Linked DNA regions of Homo sapiens: region 2 is linked to region 1. Evidence: promoter capture Hi-C in 16 types of primary human blood cells and fetal thymus (Javierre and others, 2016). All regions are on one chromosome and are shown on one strand. The core of a region is centred on a gene start or on the middle of the fragment in contact, and the rest is flanking DNA. Distances in the headings are between cores, read along the strand shown.

What was found. Contacts are between HindIII fragments. The CHiCAGO score rates a contact against its expected background, and 5 or more counts as called.
Region 2: the fragment with the promoter of AARS1 here is called in contact with the fragment with the promoter of ZNF821 in region 1 in 1 of 17 cell types (M0 macrophages); the score reaches 6.4 in M0 macrophages.

The regions. Positions count from the first base shown.
Region 1 is chr16:71,880,160-71,886,391 of GRCh38, forward strand. ZNF821 (zinc finger protein 821) reads right to left here and starts at 4,023. Exons shown (of 8, transcript NM_001201552.2): 1 at 3,749-4,023; 2 at 3,052-3,114. RefSeq lists enhancers at 2,849-3,048, 4,889-5,389 and silencers at 3,409-3,528, 3,549-4,308. The HindIII fragment of the contact is 5,845 bases long and covers 3,352-6,232 here.
Region 2 is chr16:70,287,294-70,293,525 of GRCh38, forward strand. AARS1 (alanyl-tRNA synthetase 1) reads right to left here and starts at 2,213. Exons shown (of 21, transcript NM_001605.3): 1 at 2,128-2,213. It also overlaps a transcript of DDX19B not described here. RefSeq lists a silencer at 1,429-1,558. The HindIII fragment of the contact is 11,417 bases long and covers 1-3,874 here.

The sequences.
Region 1 (6,232 bases), core at 2,773-5,272:
AAAGAAAGAAATGAATAAATCTCTAGCCTAACGTCAAGGTCCCAGAAAGTTTAAGAGGGGACTCCCTCAGAGGACTTAGAGAATTATACTCTAAATCCATCTTTGGAATCCAGAATACTGTTAAGTGATCATGATCAAGGTCACAGGATAAAAGAGGAAGTAAAACTCAGGCATCCAGGGTTAGAAGTACTGTGGGCTCAAGGGGATAACTCCGATGAATTGCAAAAGGAAGCAAAAGGAAGCCAAAGAGGGTGGCAGCTCACATGTCACATGCCCACTGGAAGTCAAGCCCTGCAGTCTACACCAGCGGATTTTTCATGATGTTATCTTGCCTAGAGGTAGCAAAGGCATCACATCCCTGCGAGACAGAAAATGTCTCAAATAGGCATCTGTAAATGAGAACAGCATGGGAAATAAAGCCTCTATCTGGTGATACAGGCGCAATGCTATGCTGCACTGTGAATGACATGGCACTAAGCAAATCAAACTTCTAATGTTGAAGATGGGCTCTCACCAGAAGAGACAGATGCCATCCACATTGATGAGTACTAATTCAACACCCCAGTGTGGAATACCACCTGGCCCTCCTCACACATTCCAGAGAGGTGGTCAAAGTTAATAACTTTAGAGGCTCTTCTCAATCTAGCCTCTGGGTAGCAAAGAGAACAGTGGGAGGAATAAAGAGAAAAGTTCCCCAAACGAAAAATGCTGCCAAGACATGCATCTGCTCCCCACCCCATATAGGAGGGGATATATACGTAAGCCTGAAGGTTCCTGATTAACTACAGAAAGAGTGCCCCAGCCTTAAGCATTGTTAGAGAATCTGAGATGGATTAGTATTGATAGCTGTGTCATTTTCTTAGAAAGAGTGAATAAAGACATAGAATAAAAAGGGATTGTCTTTCCTACCAAAGACAGGAATATGGATCTGGTCACACTCTTAAGTTTTCTTTCAGTTCCTGCCTTCTTGAGTTATACTCACATTGAATAAGCAAACATAAAATCATAGTTTATTGCCTTAAGAGGAGTTATGGGAGACTACTGCTAGCTATATTTTGTACTCCAGTTAATGAAGACTCACCTCCTGTTATGCCAACTAACTCCTCTATGTAGCTAGAAGGACCTCAAACCTATAATCAGATCCTGCCTCCCCTTACCAAAAGAATAAAGAAACCGCAAATGGCAAAGACAGGCCTCCACAGGAAGTGGCAAAGGAAGCAGCTTTCAGGCAGTCTTCTAGCATATCTGCATATCAAACACAGTTCTTTTTCAGACCTTTAATTAAAAACAAAACAAAACAAAACTCTAAATGTATACAATAAAAATCAATTTAAACTATTTAGAGGGCAATATACTGAGTGCTGATAGTGTATGTTCTCTAAGTTTTGTGTATGTCATTTTTTTCTAATCAAGTAGTTGTTTTATTCACGGAAGCAGTGAATGAATATCACACTTTGGATTTCCTATATGTGTGTGGAATCACCAAGTGGAAAGGTAATGAAATGCAGGCTCTATTAATATTTTTAAAAATATGGCCAGGCACCGTGGCTCACGCCTGTAATCCCAACACTTTGGGAGGCCAAGGCAGGCAGATCACTTGAGGCCAGGAGTTTGAGACCAGCCTGGCCAATATGGGGAAACCTCTAATAAAAATACAAAAATTAGCTGGGCATGGTGGTGCACACCTGTAAATTCCAGCTACTCGGGAAGCTGAGGCATGAGAATCGCTTGAACCTGGGGAGGGGAGGTTGCAGTGAGCTGGGATGGAGGCACTACACTGCAGCTTGGGCAACAGAGTGAGACTCCATCTCAAAAAAAGATAAAAAACTGCCATGGGCGGTGGCTCTCGCCTGTAATCCCAGCACTTTGGGAGGCTGAGGCGGGTGGATCACCTGAGGTCGGGAGTTTGAGAACAGCCTGGCCAACATGGTGAAACCCCGTCTGTACTAAAAATACAAAAACTAGCTGGGCGTGGTGATGCATGTCTGTAATCTCAGCTACTCAGGAGGTTGAGGCAGGGAATTGCTTGAACCCGGGAGGCGGAGGTTGCAGTGAGCCAAGAACGCACCACTGCACTCCAGCCTGGGCGACAGAACGAGACTCCGTCTCAAAAAAAAAAAAAAAAGATAAATAAAAATTTAAAAAAATAAAATATACTCCTCTAATGTGATAATCTATTGAGGCTAAATATATATATACTCTATTATAGAAGAAAAAACAGAATCTTGACTAATTTTTATATTTTCTCCCTTCAAGATCAGAAACTGAAACTGTAAGATAAAGGTAATAAAGTCCCTTCTGAAGGAAGGCCAAATAATTTGAACCAGACAACATTTCAATATTAAAGCTCCAAGTCAAAAGACAGAGATGAGTGTCTGCGTATTTAAATCAGCAATGCCCGCTGCATCTTATAATCCTCCTAGTGGCCAAATGGGGAACTGACCAGATGGTACCCAATGGGACTTCACACCTGAGTGATCAAGAGAAAAATAAGCAATTACAGTCCCCTCCCACACAACGAAACGAAAATAATAACAAAAACACCCACAAAAACAGGCCTGTGGGGTCATGGGCTGTTGAAAATCAATAAGTAAATAAATAAATGGCGCTGAAAGGACACTCTTGACCACAAAGCAAGATCTCAGAGGCCAGATGACTTGTTTTATAGGCAGTTAAAGCTAATAAAACCCAGAGACATACAGCCCTAAAGGTCACTCATTTTGTTTTACTTTTAACACTGCCTCAATTTCCAAGCCAAAACCTGAAACCAAACCAAACCAAAAATGTAAATAGATAGCTGCCTGAACATGGGCTGGGAAGACAGGTAAACGGTGAGATTCAGGTCTAAAGGGATTCCATTTTAAAAGGAAAGCAGTTCTGTCTGTCTTCAGAGCAAGGTTAAGAGTCCTCGGGAAGGTGCAACGTCTCCCCTGAACACTGTCTCTGCTCTCCCACAGGTATTAGGTTGCAGCGTCTAGGGCACACCACAGACTTTGGCAAGAAAAAAAACGAGTGAAATCTCAGCTTGATGAAAAGAGAGTGCGTTCCCACCTCCAGCTCTGGTGCAGTTCCCACGGAGCAAAGCAAACTCGACTGAATCCAAGTGATCTGTATCTGCCAAAAAGGAGAGGACAAGAAAGCTGGTCACTTAGCCGCCTGGCTGTTCACCTGACCCCTGGGGTTGGGTCTGGGGCGTGTCTAATCAGCCGAGATGGTCCCTCTGCTTCTTCAAGCATGAGCCCAGGTAAATTCCCAGGAATTACCAGACAAGAGCCTGACAAGAGCCGGAGGTCTTCCGAGGCGGCTCAGACAAACCCTTAGACAACACAATCTCCGAAATCTAAATTTAGAAGCTTTTCTGCGAGACCCAGACGCGGGGACTGATACCCCCCGGTCTGCACGCCCACGCCCATCCTCCCCTCCCCCAGCTCCACCCAAGGCTGTCAGACGCCGGGGCCGTCCCCGCCGGGGCCCGAGGAGGCGGGGTGCCCGCGGCCCGCGCAAAAGCCCCCCGGCCCCGCACCCCGCGCCCCGCGCCCGAGAGCGCCAAGGGGCAGCAGGAGGAGCGGCCGGGGAGGAATTGGGGTTGGAAGCGGGGAGGGTGAGCCCGGGCTGCCCCCCTAGGCCGGAGCTGGCCCCCGGCCCTCTCCCCAGTGCAGACAAAAGGACCAACAGCCGGCGGCCGCGAGGGGGCGAGGAGCCCGCATCCCCAGCCCGGACCCGGAGGGAGGGCAGGGGGTCTTTTTACCCGGCGCCTCGGCGCTGCGCTGCGCTCTGGGTCCCTGGGCCCCGCCTCCGGACAGACGGACCGCCGGACAATGGACCCGGGACCGCAGCCCAAGCCAGCCGGGCCGGGGCGCTCCGGGACTGGGCCCCGGCGAGCGGAAGGGGCTCCGGGCCGAGCCGAGCCGGTGGCGGGGAGCCGAGGGGCGGCGCTGCAGACGGACAAAGCCAACAGCAGACAGACAGACGGAGGGGGAAAAAGATGGCGACGCGGGCGGCGGGAGCGCGCGGCTCGCGCACCCGCAGCTAGTGAGGCGCGTGCACGAGCCTCCCTCTCCCCCTCCCCCGCGCCGGCCAGGTCCCCTTCCCCGCGGCCCGGCGCGCGCCTGGCGTTGTGGGCGGGGCCTGAGGAGAGGGGCTCTGGAGAGGAGGGGCTCCGGGGAGCGCCCAATCCCGGGCGCCCGAGAGGGGCTCGCCCGCGTTCCAGGGCTCCGGAACCCCCCGCCTCGCCCATTCCCGGGTCTTTCTCTGGCTGTCTCAGCCGCTCAGCTCCCCCAGACCTTCCTGGACGTGTAAACGCCACCCTACCCAGCCCCGATCCTGGTTTCTTACCCCACCATCGAGTTCAGCCACAAAACCCACAACCCCCAACCACAGCTCCGCCGCAGGCACCCCCTCTCCTTAGCCCGGATCCCCACCACCGTCACAAACCCTCTTCGCCTCATTCCCCCACGCTTCGCGGTGGCTTCGGCTCCCGAGGCTTTGAATGTGACCACGGGCCTTGGTGGGAGGGGCCAAGTTCAGCTGTCAGAACCTCAGAGCTGGGAAATCTTGAGATTTCTTTTGAGTATTTAATTTTCTGACATGATTCTCAACTGATAAAATAACATTGGCTGCAGACCCAGGGGCAGGGGAACTTGTGGCACTGTTGTCACTTGAGGGATGTTTGGGGGCAATGGAGAGCCGTTGGACCTTTTTTTTTTTTTTTTTTTTGAGACAGAGTCTCGCTCTGTCACCCAGGCTGCAATGCAATGGCGCGATCTTCGCTCACTGCAACCTGCGCCTCCCAGGTTCAAGCGATTCTCGTGCTTCAGCCTCCCGAGTAGCTGGGACTACAGGCGTGCACCACCACGCCCAGCTAATTTTTGTATTTTTAGTAGACGGGGTTTCACCATGTTGGCCAGGCTGGTCCCGAACTCCTGACCTCAGGTGATCCTCCCGCCTCGGCCTCTCAAAGTGCTGGGATTACAGGCGTAAGCCACTGTGCCCGGCCTGGTTGGACGCACTTCTAGTCAAACACCTCCTCCTGTCCACGTCCTTCTCTCTCCTAGTTCCTGTTGCCTTCTTTTCTTCCTCTCTTCTAGAATGCCTGAGCCTGCCCTGGCATCGCTTACCTGGAGAAGCAGGGAATGCAGAGGAAAGAAGATGAGATCTGGTATTAGAAGATCTGGCTTTGAGCCCCAGCTCTGCCACCCACCAGCCTGTTGACTTTGGGCAAGTCACTTCCCTGTTCTGAGCCTCTGCTTCCTAAGATGTCAAATGGATAATGATGCAATAATTCCTGGCCTTTACTCTCCGAGGGTTGTTGTGCCAGTTAAGTAAAACAAATGGCTAAAAGCATCATGCAAATGTTTTTCGTGATTACTGGCTGCACAAAGGCAGGGCTAACGAGGATGCTGTCATTTGCTGATAAAGTGACAAGTCCTGGTATTTGCATAGAACATTCTTGCAAATTGTCTTTCCCCTAAATCTTTTATGAGATGATCTCATTGTCTGCATCTTGTGTTCAATGTAATAGAATGATTACATTGAGGGATCTTGGTCCTTCACAATTCTGTGATAAATAGCTCATTCATCATTCACTCATTTATTTATTGTGATTAGGATACTTAGATAGCAATTATTGTTGTTTAACTTCAGTCAAGGAAACATTTTAATTTCATTTAAAAACTTAGTTTCCAAGTAGACAGAAAATGGAATATTATCATCCAACCCGCAAGTGTTTGTACTATTTTGTGTAAGAATACAACCTAGAATACACACTGGCTTTTATATTTAACAGTAATTCTTGATCAGTTTGGACTGAGGGATACAAGTATGGCTTTATTATGTCACTTTAAAGCTGACTTAGTTGACATTTTCAACAGAAAAGTAGCAAACAGGTAAAGTTTGCCTCCAGTGAAATTTCTTGGATGCATTATTATTATGTAATGTTGGGCAGCTTATTCCATCTCCTTGACTTCCAAATAAAATGAGATGATAATAATGCTATTCTTATGACTTCCCTGTGCTCTAAAAATTTCTCAGAGGTGTTGTGATTCAAGGTTACAACCAAATAATGAAAAAATTATTAAATACGTAATTAGTTTAAGTTAGGCATGGTGGCTGGCACCTATAGTCCCAGCTACTCAGGAGGCTGAGATGGTATGATGACTTGAGCCCAAGTGTTTGAGGCCAGCTTGGGCCACATAGTGAAACCCTTGTCTCTTTAAAAAAGAAGAATTAATTT
Region 2 (6,232 bases), core at 963-3,462, 1.6 Mb before region 1:
AGCGGGCGCCTGTAATCCCAGCTACTTGGGAGGCTGAGTCAGGAGAATTGCTTGAACCTGGGAGGCGGTGGCTGCAGCGAGCCGAGATCATGCCATTGCACTCCAGCCTGGGTGACAAAGCGAGACCTGTTTCAACTTTTTTTTTGAGGCAGGTCTCGCTCTGTCACCCAGGCTTTACACACAGGTCTCGCTCTGTCACTTTGGGAGGCTGAAACAGGAGGATTGCTTGAGGCCAGGAATTCAAGACCAGCCTGGGCAACATGGGAACACCTGAGCCTGGGAGGTCAATTTTTTTTTTAATTGGCCAGGTGTGGTGGTGTGCACCTGCAGACCCAGCTACTCGGGAGGCTGAGTCCAAAGGGTCGCTTGAGCACATAAGTTTGAGGCTGCAGTGAGCTATGGTCACACCAAAACATTCCAGCCTAGGTAACAGGGTGAGACCCTGACTCAAACAACAACAAACGTAAAGACACTTTTTCTTTTTTTTGAGACGGTGTTTCGCTCTTGTAGCCCAGGCTGGAGTGCAATGGTGCGCAACCTCGGCTCACCGCAATCTCCACCTCCCGGCTTCAAGCGATTCTCCTGCCTCAGCCTCCTGAGTAGCTGGGAATACAGGCATGTGCCACCACACCTAGCTAATTTTGTATTTTTAGTAGAGACGGGGTTTCTCCATGTTGGTCAGGCTGGTCTCGACCTCCTGACCTCAGGCGATCTGCCCGCCTCGGCCTCCCAAAGTGCTGGGATTACAGGGGTGAGCTACCGCGCCCGGCCAAGACACTTATTTAAGACAGCCTTCCCCTTCTTCTTTTTTTTTTTTTTTTTTTTTTGAGACGGAGTCTCGCTCTGTTGCGCAGGCTGGAGTGCAGTGGCGCGATCTCAGCTCACTGCAAGCTCCGCCTCCCGGGTTCACGCCATTCTCCTGCCTCAGCCTCCCGAGTAGCTGGGACTACTGGGACTACGGGCGCCAGTCACCACGCCCGGCTATTTTTGTATATTTGGTAGAGATGGGGTTTCACCGTGTTAGCCAGGATGGTCTCAATCTCCTGACCTCGTGATCTGCCCACCTCGGCCTCCCCAAGTGCTGGGATTACAGGCGTGAGCCACCGCGCCCGGCCGCCTTCCCCTTCTTGATAAGGCTCCCCCTCTTTTACTGTCTCACAGCCTCAAGTGTTTCCCTTCATAATTTCCATACGCGCTTCATGGATTGTTTAATGTGCGCCTCCCCCATCAGGCTGTCAGTTCCATCCCAGCAGCAACGACTGTTCTGGGCTCTTTTTTTTTTTTTTTTTTTGAAACGGAGTCTCCCTCTGTCACCCAGGCTGGAGTGCAATGGTGTGATCTCAGCTCACTGCAACCTCCGCCTGCCGGGTTCAAGCGATTCTCATGCCTCAGCCTCCGGAGTGGCTGAGAGTACAGGCGCGCGCCGCCACGCTCGGCTAATTTTTGTATTTTTAGTAAAGACGGGGTTTCACCATGTTGGCCAGGCTAGTCTCGAACCCCTGACCTCAGGTGATCCGCCCGCCTCGACCTCCCAAAGCGCTGGGATTACAGGCGTGAGCCTCCGCGCCTGGCCCTGGGCTATTACAGCACATCCTCAGCATCTAGTACAGTGGCTGCTAAATACGTATTTCGTGATCAGGTATACTAATCCTTTAACACCAAGTTCGGAATTAACTCACATGCTTCAAAGCACACCGAGAAATACAAACTGTTTTACAGAACAGCTTAAGATGACGGTCTCGGTGCGCCTGGACCGGCATCAGCTGTTTAGTTAATTTTAAGAAATCAAGGAATGGCTGGCTTACAGCAGGATTGCACCCAGCTGGCCCATCCTTCCTCCCGTGCCCCCACCCGCCCCTAGGGGATTAAAACCAAGGGAGCTAAAACCCCAGGTTGGCAACCGTGAGGTATTGGTGCTCAGCAAATCCACCCGAGGCCGCGACACTCGCAGCGCTCCCGGGGGCGAACGCAAGGCCACACTGTCCAGCTCCCGCTCCAGCCCAGACTGGGCTTCTCCAGGCCACGCGGGGCCTGATCCTGGGGCCCACTGCGGCTGCGGAGCTTTCCCCCCAGTCTGCGGGCCCAGCCGCTCTCCTAGCACCGCAGAGCTCTCCGAGGGCGGCCTACCTCTCCTAGGGTCGCCGTCCCCAGCTCCTCCCTCAGAGTCCCCCGCCAAGGGCCCGCTGCACCTATTCCCGCAGACGCGCAGCTGTACCGGCCTCAGACCACGACCTACCACAACCCGCCACGCTCCGTCCAATCAGAGCGCGCCGACGGAAAGTGCCCCGCCGCGCCTTACCTCATGAGATATTATTGGTCAACCAACATGCCAGTCAAACTGAGGACGAATCCGTTCATTAGTGGATTCCTGGGAAGGCGGCTCTAACTTGGCTGATGCAACTGCGAGAAAAGGTGGGATGGGGTGCGTCACATGATCGAGTTAGACCCCCCCCCGCCCCCCCCGCCCCCCCCCGCCCCCGGCTCCCGGAGGTCGACATTTTGGTTTCCATAGGCAAAGTCCTAACACCACAATTGACATAGTTAAAAAGGGGAGACGGTAACGTGTTTGGTAGAGGTTACATATCTTGCTATAGTTGTTTATTTTAGTTGCTGAGTGATACACAGCCCTCAAAGAGTCTGACATTGTGCCCATGGTTACACTTGTCCGGGGGAGACCTTGAATTTGGTGTGGAAGAAATAACATCAGTAGTTCAGGTACGATTGGATCAGCATCTGGTCCTCGATTTGCCTTTGGAAAAAAAAAAGTTAATATTTATAGGCCTGGGGGAGGAGGGTGAATATATATATATACATATACATATATACATGCCAGGTGCGGTGGCTCACGCCTATAATTGCAACACTTTGGGAGGCCAAGGTGGGAAGATCACCTGAACCCAGGAGTTGGAGACCAGCCTGGTCAACATAACTAGACCCTGTCTCTACGAAAAATTTTTTAAAAGGCCGGGCGCGGTGGCCCACACCTGTAATCCTAGCACTTTGGGAGGCTGAGGCCAACGGATGACGAGGTCAGGAGACCGAGAGCATCCTGGCCAACATGGTGAAACCCCGTCTCTACTAAAAACACAAAATTAGCCGGGCGCGCATCTGTAGTCCCAGCCACTCGGGAGGCTGAGGCAAGGGAATCCCTTGACCTCGGGAGGCGGAAGTTGCGGTGAGCCGAGATGGCGCCACTGCACTCCAGCCTGGCTACGGAGCAAGACTCCGTCTCAAAAAAAAAAATAAAAAATAAAAATTAGCCAGGCATAGTGGCGCATGCTTGTAGTCCCAGCTACTTGGGAGGTTGAAGTGGGAGGATCACTTGAGCCTAGGAAGTTGAGGCTGCAGTGAGCCCTGATCGTGACACTGCATTCCTTGGGCGACAGAGCGAGGCCCTGTCTGAAAAATATGTATGTATTTATACGTGAGGCATTGCATCAAACATTTCACATGCTTATTTCATTTGATTTTTAAACTGTGTATGAGGTCAGCTGGAGTCCCCTTTTTACAAATGAGGAAATTACCTTGCACAAGTTCACACCCAATAGTAAGTTGTGGAGACAGGATCCAAACCTGTGTCTATTTAACTCCAAAGCCCATGCTCTTAACCACTGCACTATTACCTCCATCATCTGATATATCCAAATACACGGGTAATAAATTGTGCTGCTGGTCATAACTCAAGTTACAGACAATACAGAAAAATACTACTTTTTATGCAAAAAGAGCATCCTACACAAAAAGAAGGTCAAGCCCAAAAGCCAGTAAAAACATAAATCATTTGATTTACTTTCCCACTTCATAGCTGCTCACAAATAGTAATCATCAAACCTACCATTTATTGAGCACTTAGTATACAGCAGGCACCAATCTAAGCTTTTAATCCTCACAACCTTATCATGAGTTACTACTACTATCTGCTTTTAACAGAGTAAAATAAGGCAGAGAGAGAGGTTAAGTAACACAGCTGAGGGCAAAACCAGGAGACACAAGTGTTTATTCTGATCCACAGTGCCCTAAATAACATATATTTAGCTTAAACAATCTGGGAAATGAGTCAGACTTCTAAGCCACCACACTTAAAATAGAAAGCCAAAAGGTATGTATGAATTGTACTTTCAGAATAAAATAATACAGGTTGTAATCTCAATAATTTAGTTCTGCTGCCAGAGTTGTTACTAGGATAGTACCTTCATTAATAAAATAATTATAAACAGATTAAAATAATTTTTTGGCCTAGCGTGGTGACTCATGCCTGTAATCCCAGCACTTTTGGGAGGCCTAGGCAGGCAGATCATGAGGTCAGGAGATTGAGACCATCCTGGCTAACACGACGAAACCCCGTCTCTACTAAAAAATACAAAAAAAGTAGCCGGGCGTGGTGGCGGGCGCCTGTAGTCCCAGCTACTCTGGAGGCTGAGGCAGGAGAATGGCGTGAACCCGGGAGGCGGAGCTAGCAGTGAGCCGAGATCAGGCCACTGCACTCCAGCCTGGGCCGCAGAGCGAGACTTTGTCTCAAAATAAATAAATAAATAAATAAGAATTTTTTATTCACCCATTAAGAGAGATTGTAGGCCAGCACAGAGACTCACACCTGTAATCCCAACACTTTGGGAGGCCAAGGCAGGAGGATCAATGGAGCCCAAGTGTTTGAAACCAGCCTAGGCAACATAGTGAGACTCTGTTAAAAAAAAAAAATTCTTTTTAATTAGCTAGGCGTGGTGGCATTCGCCTGTAGTCCCAGCTGCTCAAGAGGCTGAGGAAGGAGAATCACTTGGAGCCCAGAAGCTGAAGGCTTCAGTGAGCTGAGATCTCGCGACTGCACTCCAGCCTGGGCAACAAAGCAAGACCCTTGTCTCTCTCTCTTTTTTTTTCCTTTTTTTGAGGCAGAGTTTCACTCTTGTTGCCCAGGCTGGAGTGCAATGGCATGATCTCGGCTCATGTCAACATCTGCCTCCTGGCTCAGCCTCCCGAGTAGCTGAGATTACAGGCGCCACCACCACGCCCAGTTATTTTTTTTTCTTCTATTTCTAGTAGAGATGAGGGTTTCGCCATGTTGGCCAGGCTGGTCTTGAACTCCCGACCTCAGGTGATTCGCCTGCCTTGGCCTCCCAAAGTGTTGGGATTTCAGGCGTGAGCCATCGCGTCCGGCCCCCTTGTCTCTTAAAACAAAAAAAAGAAAGAAATTGTAATTGAGGCCCAAAAGTCTCATTCTAATATAATTATCTAATGATATTTTTCTGTGATATTTTTCTCTTGTAGATGTCAACTACATGCTAGAAAGAATGCTATCTTAATGCAATGTGCAAATTATGTATTTTAGGAAACTACTGGCAAGTTCTTGATTTACTCTAGGCTAAGCAAATAGGCCTGTAGGTGGGAGTGAGCGATATGCACATGGCTTGCTCTCCAGTAGAACATTTGTTGAACTCCATCTTGGGGCATGAGAAAGATAACCAAAGAACTGAAATAGTACAACAGCTGTGATTGCCCCACTACCCTCCAGCCTGGGCCGCAGAGTGAAACAACAGGCCAGGCACAGTGGCTCATGCCTGTAATCCCAACACTTTGGGAGGCCGAGGCGGGCAGATCACCTGAGGTTGGGAGTTCAAAATCAGCCTGGTCAACCTGGTGAAACCCCATCTCTACTAAAAATACTAAAATTATCTGGGTGTGGTGGCGGCCACCTGTAATCCCAGCTACTCAGAAGGCTGAGGCAGAGGCTGCAGTGACTCAAGATTGTGCCACTGCACTCCAGCCTGGGAGACAAGAGGGAAACTCTGTCTCAAAAAAATTAAATTAAATTAAATTTAAAAAATAATAAAAACAACAAACAGAAACAGGCCGGCGTGATGGCGTATACCTTTAATCACCATACTTTGGGATTCTGAGGTGGGTGGATGGCTTGAGCCCAGGAGTTTGAGACTAGCCTGAGCAACATGACAAAACTCAACCTCTACAAAAAAATACAAAAATTAGCTGGGCATGGTGGCATGCATCTGTAGTCCCAGCTATTCAGGAGGCTGAGGTGGGAGGATAGCTTGAGACAGGGAAGTAAAGGATGCAGTAAGCCATGATCGTGCCACTGCACTCCAGCCTGGGTGGCAGAATGAGACAGTGTCTCAATTGAAAAAAAAAAGAAAGAAATGGAAACAAGTGGAAAAAAAAAAAAACTAACATAGCTTTGGAAGGATGTAGCGCTAGACTCTTAACTCTCCCATGGCATCTTAGC